Linked DNA regions of Homo sapiens: regions 1 and 3 are each linked to region 2. The links are contacts of gene promoters, found by promoter capture Hi-C in blood cells and fetal thymus (Javierre and others, 2016). All regions are on one chromosome and are shown on one strand. Each heading gives the region's core, a stretch centred on a gene start or on the middle of the fragment in contact. The rest is flanking DNA. Distances are from core to core; before and after follow the strand shown.

Region 1 (2,700 bases), core at 57-2,556, about 33 Mb after region 2:
CGGAGGTTGCAGTGAGCTGAGATCATGCCATTGCACTCCAGCTTGGGCAACAAGAGTGAAACTCCATCTTAAAAAAAGAAAAAAAAAAAAAAGAGAAAACTTGAGTTAAATTATTTTATCCAAAGTCATATTGGTACAGGCAGAATAAAGACTACATGTCCAAGAAATAAAACATTTTATGTTTTCTGGAGTGTGCTTCATTTAAGTGAAAATGAACTTTTTGGGTGTGATTTACTGCTCTTTTCAACTTCTGAAGTGGGACTAAATAGAATGAAATATGAAAATCTCAAAACCTAAGTACTCCAGCCGTGACTTAGTAGACGTATTTGTAATATATTTTTGCAACCTCATCTCATAGAACATCACTAAGCAATGGTGATGGTGGTTAAACCAATATATAAATACATTCGTCAAAACTCATCAAATTGAGCACTTCAAACTTATTAATTTTATTGCACATAAATTATATCTCATAAAAAGTAACTTTAAACAATTAGGTGTGGGAATGTAAACTTGCTAAAAGTAAGCTCCTCGAGGAAACACCGCCTTGTTCACGCCCATATCCTACCCCCGGCACTAGCACAATGTTGCTTGTGTAATATGTACTTATGAATGAATATTAGCGCCCCCGAGGCTTAGACTGAACAGGTAAACGTTTAAAAAACGAATCATACGAGGGATACTCTTTTCACCAAGTTATTGATAAAATCCTCGCATCAATTTAAATTCTGGTAACTTTAAACTGCATGTAAAGCAACTGCAGTCAGCATGTGCTGTACTATTTCAGAATGATTGATTTCACAGTGACCCAGATTCCAATATTCACTAGCGCCTTTCACGACCCATGAACCCTTCCTCCCCTAGGGAGCTTGGCATTTATGCAGCCTGCCGGCAGGCTACACCCCCCCGAACGCGGAGTTTTGTGAGCAATCAACGCACTTCACGTGTCTCCTGGGCGGTGGGACCGGAGTTCTGATACAAAGAGGTCGAAGGACCTGACCAAAAGCCCGTCGCACGCCAGTGCCTGGACACCCGCCCGCGGGGACGTGCAAGACCCCCCGGCCCACGCCCCCACGGACACTGGGGAGACATCCGGGGAGCACTGCTAAGCCATCCACCTGTCAGCCTCAAGTCCAGGAGGAAATTCTGTGATAGCTGCTTCGCTGCTTGCAGTCTTAACAACTTAATGATTTCTCGAATCGTGGGCAACGGAGGGAGACGGCAAGTGCTGAGTTTTCCGGAGGCAGCCATGATACGCGGCAAGCACCATCCAACCCTACCTCACCCAGGACCTTCACCGCCGCTCCGAAAGAAACGCGCAGGGGAGGAACCTGCGAGACCTAAGGCCCGCCTCGGAGTCAGCCCCATTGGTCAGACCTATCCCACCGGAAGCGATGACCGCGGACAGGAAATTCCCGGCGTGCTGAGAGCGCATGCGCTAAGTCCTGCCGCGAGAAGGGCAGGCTGGGTGGTCGGCGGCTTCCGCCTGTGAGAGCCGGGGGAGAGCCGGGTGGACTAGGCTTCTCCTGGGCGGGCTATGGGGAGAGCGCCCAGGAGGGCGGGACGAGGCGGGGCCTGGACAGGGTGGGGTTTTTCGGAGGAGTTGCTCTGAGAGGTGCAGCCGGTTTACTCCCGCCCTGAAGTTCCCAAGGGCTTCCGGCTCTTTAACGTTCTAAATACCTGTCTGTGAATATTAGAGGAAAAGCGGGTGCTTAGAGGCAAAGCTACTGTTTGTTAGCAATTCTTTCTTACTGTGAGGCGTTTTTAGAACCGCCGCTCTGCAGATGCTGCATGATGGGTTTTTAACTTCGTTCAGCCTCAGTTTTTTCATCAGTTAAATGGAGCTAATGTCTACCTCAAAATTGTGAGCACTAAATGAGAGAGATCGCCTGGTGTGCACGTTCAGAACATAGTGCACGCATGGCATTGGGTAAGCTCCCACGTGATCAGTGGTGGCTGTTATTATTTGGCAGATGAATAATTGGCCAGTGTAAAGAGGTCATTCGATTTGCTAGGATTACAGCTAAGAACAGAGAGAAGACTGAAATATGAGTTCTGTCTTTCCGTTATACGAGATAAAAACAACGAAGCAAAAAAAAAAAAAAATTAAAGTTTCTCTGATAGGTGGGAGAATTTTGCTGTTTTAACCCTGCTTATGTTTGGACATTGCTGCGTTGATCACAAATGAATTTTAAAGTTTCTGTTCCTCAATTAGTAAGTTTTTAAAAAAGCTAATGGAAAACGAAACAACTATGGGTATGGATATAAAAATGAGGAGTACTTTGAAATTCCAGTGGAAAACTCAACCACCTTCTATAAAAGCTGTTTTAAAAGGAACTGAGATAATCTCCTAGCTTTAAAAAATAGTGATGACTACCATAGAGGTAAGGAGATTTGCCCAACGTGGCATCAAAATGTAGACTGGAAGTACAAACTCTTGATTCAGATATCTTATCGTCCAAAACACAGTATACCTGACAAAGCATTATTTCACAGTTATATTCATTATTTCCCGTACTCCTCACAATGGTCCCATGTGAATGAGATTATTATTCTTAGTTTGCTGTGAAGAAATAGGGGAGGTGAGGTCATTTGACAATGCCCAGAGTCAGACAGCAAAGTACAGAGAGAAGACAACCTGAGTTGTGTTTTTTCTGAGTTCTGATCTCACTGGCCACACTCAAGTATCAGCTTATTATT
Region 2 (2,700 bases), core at 78-2,577:
GCATATATAAGGGCTCATCAAATATTACTTCCTCTATCACATGCATGCCTCCATATATCTGATTTTGCTTCAGCCAACATCCCAGTGCTGAGCACAAAGGCAGCATTCACTAAATACTTGCTCATTGGAAGAGATATACATATATCTTCCATTAAATGATAGATATATATTTAATGTACTATTTTACATTCACCCAAGAAGTAAACCAATCCTATGTTGAAGTTTTGTATGTTATCTCTGACTTGTTTGTAAGTTTTTGCCTTCACATGCTGACTTTTGTAAAAAAAAAAAGTCGAATTTTGTAGACTTCATATTTTCAAAGCATTTGCACAGCCATTATAGTATTAAAGACACTCTTAGTGGGTAAAAAGATAGATCTTATTCCCAGTCAAGAAATGGAAAAAACTGGCACTGGTGGCTAAGGAATTGTTCTAAATGACAGAACCAGTGTATTTTAATATACAGAAAAATGTCCAAGAGGCTTTATCTAAACTGAGATCTACTGACTCCTTTTCCATTGTTTTTTCCACTATACCAATCTCTTAGGCAAAAAAGACTATATCTGTAAAGTATACGCAGGAAAAACTATTTTAATTAACTAAAATAGTACAAATGAGTCTATTTCTTTTTATTCTGGGTACAGAGTAGGCACTTGATGACTGGATTAAAAACAGCACATGATATATCAATTGCAGTTCCTGGTTTACAGTTTTAAGTAATCGAGAGTGAGTTATTTAAACTGCTCTTTTTGATAAACATATTTTAAAGAGGGCTTTTTCTCCCAATGAAAATGTAAGAACAAGTTTCATTATTTTTAAGACAATTTCAATTTGGGGCCTAGCACATCATGCTTGAGAGCTGGTTTTTTCCTTATGCAAATGGATCCTTTCTCTAAACTGGTGCAAACCACACTTTGCCTGCCAAACTTATGACTCAAAGGCCCTGAAGGGTTTCTGTAGCCTCCCAGCCACAGCCCAGAAACCATAAGCTGTTTCCACGTGAAACATCCAAACACGGTCTCCCAAGCCTAAGTCTGCTACCATCAAGGCTTCTGTATAAAAGGCAAATGAGGAGGCAGCGCCCCCTTCTGCTCCCACCCCCTTCTGCTCCCACCCCCTTCATGTCAGCAGCAGCCAATCGCTTTTCTCTGTCGTGCAGTCGGCTCCTGGGATTGGCCAGGGACGGGACAGGCGCGGAACCACTGCGCGCACAGGCGGAGCGCGGAGACTTGTCCGTCACGTGCGGCCGCCCGGCCTCTCGGCCTTGCCGCGCGCCTGGCGGGGTTGGGGGGGCGGGGACCAAGATCTGCTGCGCCTGCGTTGTGGGCGTTCTCGGGGAGCTGCTGCCGTAGCTGCCGCCGCCGCTACCACCGCGTTCGGGTGTAGAATTTGGAATCCCTGCGCCGCGTTAACAATGAAGCAGAGTTCGAACGTGCCGGCTTTCCTCAGCAAGCTGTGGACGCTTGTGGAGGAAACCCACACTAACGAGTTCATCACCTGGAGCCAGGTACGGTCAGGCCACGGCGGCCTCTGAACCCCCTGAATAACCGCCTCCTCACTCGCTCTCCTGCGGGGTGGTCTCTCGCGGCCTTGCGGCTCGACGCTGTCTGCGAGGCCCGCGGTGCGGGGCCTTGGCGTTCAGCCTCGCGGGGGACCCCCTGTATTGTTCGCTCGGGGAGCCGCGGGGGCCCGGCCGGCAGCGCCGCTCTCCTCAGGCCGCGGTGGGGGAGGGGCGGCCCGCGCGGGGCGTAGCGGCCCAGGCAGCCCCTTAACGGTCCGGTCCGCGTTCGGAACCGGCCCGGCGTCGCGAGGGGAATCGGCGAGCCGAGGGCGCGGGAGCCTCTTTACTGCACACTCATCCTCCGTCCTCCCGCCCGGCTCAGGGGTTACAAATCGCGGAGGGGACAGGGAGCCCAGGGCCAGGATCATCAACGTGGGGCTTTATAGGAGGCGATCTTTACCTCAGCGACCGATCACCCCCAGTTCCCCCAACATTGCTTTGCATCTGGCATCTTTATGTGGAGAGCAGTCAGGGCAATAGACATACGTTCAAACGCAGGTTACTGCTTATCAGTTGGTTTTAAAAATATATAGAAATTAACAAATTATTCTTTTGAGATTCTGTGCTATTTGTATAATGGGATTATTAGGATTGTTTTAATAAAGTACTAATAGGTGGTAACTTAGTAGTTACTAAATTTCGCTGAACAGTTACCAGCAGAGGGGCATATCGATGTGTTGATTATTGGTTTGATCTCAACTCTGCTTCTAAACAAGCATGACCTTAGTCCAGCCCTTTATCTTGTCTGGCCTAAGTTAAATCTTTCATAAGATGGATGGGTTGCCTAGGTGACCCAAGACCTATATCAGTCCCAAATACAAGATTTTAGGCAGAATGATTATTTACATCCACAGTGCATGTGCATTAGAATACACTCCTAGGCTGTTGGAATCATTTTTATGAAGGAAAGTGGTTAACTCTTATTGTAGATGATCACCTATTGAGGCATATTTTCATATGTGTAGTTCTTGAGAAGAATAAGTGAAAACTACCTGCATAGTGCCTGGCACCTGTTAAGTGCTGAGTAAATGTTATCTCCCGTCCTCCTTTCTTTCCTGTTCTCCTATTATAGGAACTCTTAGTTTTATTTACTTTTGTCTTAACAGGGAGTGAGCACCATATTAAGACCCTGAAGTTTTG
Region 3 (2,700 bases), core at 69-2,568, about 22 Mb before region 2:
TCTCCTAGGCCTAGCCCAGCGTTTGACACATAGGAAGACTTGAATGAATGAATGACAAAAAACTGTTAAGCAGGGATCAAGAAAGCTGAACCATGAAAAATTAATTTCTCATATAAATAGGATTATTTAGCCTAAGCTTAAGAGCATCTTTAAGGATCATTTTTCTCATGCAAGACTATTATAACCATCATTAAAAAAAAGAGACAACATAAACTGGAGCACAATCCATAGTAAAACCAAAAGCTTAATTCTCAACATTTGAGAACTTTGAGAATCAGAAAAAGGATTTCAATCTATGAAACATAAAATCTGGTGATGGAGAAAATGGCTGTCAATCTCACCTAACCTAGGGAAAGAAAGAAAATGTAACCATGAGTTTGAATGCACAAGTGACAACACATCAAACTTTTACCAGCCCCTAGAATTATGCTTCTTTTAAACCAAAGAATAGCAAATACCATTAGCACACTGCATTCCATGAGTAAGTTAATTTATAAGAAACCTATTTGAAATGACTGCCCAGTACTCACAAAACCTCCCTAGCACCCACATACACATTTATTTATTTCAAAATGACATTATAGGCTCCTTGATTGCGAAATTCACCCACAATCCATCACGGTCAGCTACCTATTTACTTTCCAGTGTGTTGGGGGAAAAATATGAGGAAGATTTCTTTCCCCAAATCTACGTGAAGAAAACGAAGTTATCAAGGCTTTGTAACAGAAAAAAAGAAAACAAATTACCCATGCATGGGACAGAAAAACCTCATCTGGTCACGTTGTGGCTTAACACTTGGACAATATGTAGCTTAGGTTAAGTTTTCTATCCCCAACCCCACCTACAAACTCTAGGAATGGGCGGTATTGTTGCGAGACCCCGGACTCGACCTCATGCCACTGAAAAGGATGACAGGTCGGGACTTGCCCCGGAGGCAGGAAGAGAATCTCTGGCGGGTCGCGTAGCCCGCCTCGCCGTCCCCGCCTCCAGCCAGCTCCCCTGGCCGCGGCGACCCTTCTCGTCCTCCCACCTCCACCTCCACCTCCTCACCTCTCGGCCTGGCTCACGCGTTTCCCATCACTCTGTCAGCTCCTGCCACCGCGCCTTCTTCCCTTTCGGTTTTACTTTAACTTCCCACGCCGGGTGAGGAGCTGAGCGCAGGGCCAAAGATGCGAGCGGGCAGCTGTATCGCCGCGCCCCGTCCGCCCTCCAAGCCGCGCTTGCCGGGGTCGCGCCCAGTCACAGGGAACCGCGTGTGAGGACCATCAGTCAGACAGACAGACGCAAAGACGCACAGACCCGGCGAGGAGGGACAGAGTGGAGCTGGCGCCGGCCTACACGTCACCGCCCCGCTGCAGCGCCAACGTCGGCACGTCGACTCGTCGACTCCGGGCCCTCTGCCCCGCCCGCGTGCGCGCGCCGCTCCGCCTCCCGCCTCCAGCCTCTAGTCCGCTGGGTTCGGAGGAGCAGAGGCGGAAGGTCCCGGCGGCGGCGAGGATGCGCCCCAGGGCGGGAGCGGGACGCTCCACTTTACCCTGGCTGCCCGCAACGGGCCAGGCCTGCCGTCTCTACCTCTCTACCTGTGAGTTTTTTCCCTGCATTTACTTCAGTCTGCCGCGTCTTCTCCCCGCCCTTCTCTGTAAGGTAAATATGTGGAGGAAATAATTCCTATTAAAGGTAAAGGAAAGGAGAGCAATTTGAATGAAGAAACAGGTAGTTGCTATCGTCGTTTTCAGCCAAAGCCCTCTGGCTGCTAGAGAGTATACATGGTTCTCTGGTGTCAAGGCCTGTTTTCCATAAGCTTTCTGGATTCTCAGCTTAGTTCCCTCAAAGTGATCTCTGCAAGTCGGCTCTTCGGTCAGAAGACCTCCTCCAAAAACAGAAAGCCCAAAGATTCCCTAACTCGATTGAAAAGATAGGAAGATACGAAGAAAAACTAACCTAAAGAATTGTGTGGTTTATCTGCAAAGAGTTCTAGACTAAAAGCCAACAATGCAAAGATAGTATGAGTTAATATGTTTGTTGTGGCTCTCTTCTGCCATTCCCGCTTCCTCAAGGTAATGTGCCCCGATGCCTGGTAGAACTGTTTTGTAGAGGCAGCCAATAGTGATCCAGTTATTGTCTTTACTGGTCAGACCACCTCTGAAGTGCTGTGTTCAGCATTTGAAGACTTTAATCAAGCTGGCATTATATCAGGGAAGAGCAAAATGATGACGAGAACTCAAAAACAGGGCAAGTGAAGAAGGATTGATTAAACCTTCCAGGACTCACCTAGAAGAGAGAAAACTACTGGACTCTCTCCAAATATGAAATGACCTATCATGTGAAGTTGATTTGTTTCATGTGATGCAAACTTCAGGGAACAGATTTAAGATCCTGAAAAGAAGATGCCCTTGTAGCACGACCCAAAGAATTGCCTACCTTAGCATGTGTGAATACCTCAACCACAGAATTTTGCTTCAAGGAGATTCTGAAGCTCACTTAATAGGGACTTGGTACAGGGGAGCCACACATCAACAGAATAATTAGTTGATGGTTTTGTTAAAGATATTTCCAGTCTTGAGATTACATGTGTCTTTGGTCCTGGACTTCATAGAGTTTACAAGTTAGTTCATGAGACAAGACAAATGCATCACAAAAATAAATAATGCAAGGAGGCCAAGTGATAATGAGAGGTGCTGATAAGTGCTAGGAATTCAC

Evidence for each region. Contacts are between HindIII fragments. The CHiCAGO score rates a contact against its expected background, and 5 or more counts as called.
Region 1: a contact is called between the fragment with the promoter of TFB1M here and the fragment with the promoter of HSF2 in region 2, in 1 of 17 cell types (total CD4 T cells). The highest score is 5.2, in total CD4 T cells.
Region 3: a contact is called between the fragment with the promoter of ASCC3 here and the fragment with the promoter of HSF2 in region 2, in 3 of 17 cell types (non-activated CD4 T cells, activated CD4 T cells and total CD4 T cells). The highest score is 6.6, in non-activated CD4 T cells.

Annotation. Positions count from the first base shown.
Region 1 is chr6:155,313,178-155,315,877 of GRCh38, forward strand. TFB1M (transcription factor B1, mitochondrial) reads right to left here and starts at 1,307. Exons shown (of 7, transcript NM_016020.4): 1 at 1,119-1,307. The coding sequence starts at 1,251. RefSeq lists enhancers at 1,082-1,401, 1,400-2,390, 1,472-1,521, 2,072-2,121 and a silencer at 1,572-1,651. The HindIII fragment of the contact is 4,007 bases long and covers 1-2,700 here.
Region 2 is chr6:122,398,325-122,401,024 of GRCh38, forward strand. HSF2 (heat shock transcription factor 2) reads left to right here and starts at 1,328. Exons shown (of 13, transcript NM_004506.4): 1 at 1,328-1,506. The coding sequence starts at 1,414. RefSeq lists silencers at 1,064-1,383, 1,654-1,773 and an enhancer at 1,624-2,123. The HindIII fragment of the contact is 3,471 bases long and covers 1-2,700 here.
Region 3 is chr6:100,880,011-100,882,710 of GRCh38, forward strand. It overlaps ASCC3 (activating signal cointegrator 1 complex subunit 3), which reads right to left and starts at 1,319. Exons shown (of 42, transcript NM_006828.4): 1 at 1,051-1,319. LOC107984041 (a long non-coding RNA gene) reads left to right here and starts at 1,447. Exons shown (of 8, transcript XR_007059692.1): 1 at 1,447-1,644. RefSeq lists an enhancer at 1,163-1,282. The HindIII fragment of the contact is 1,558 bases long and covers 242-1,799 here.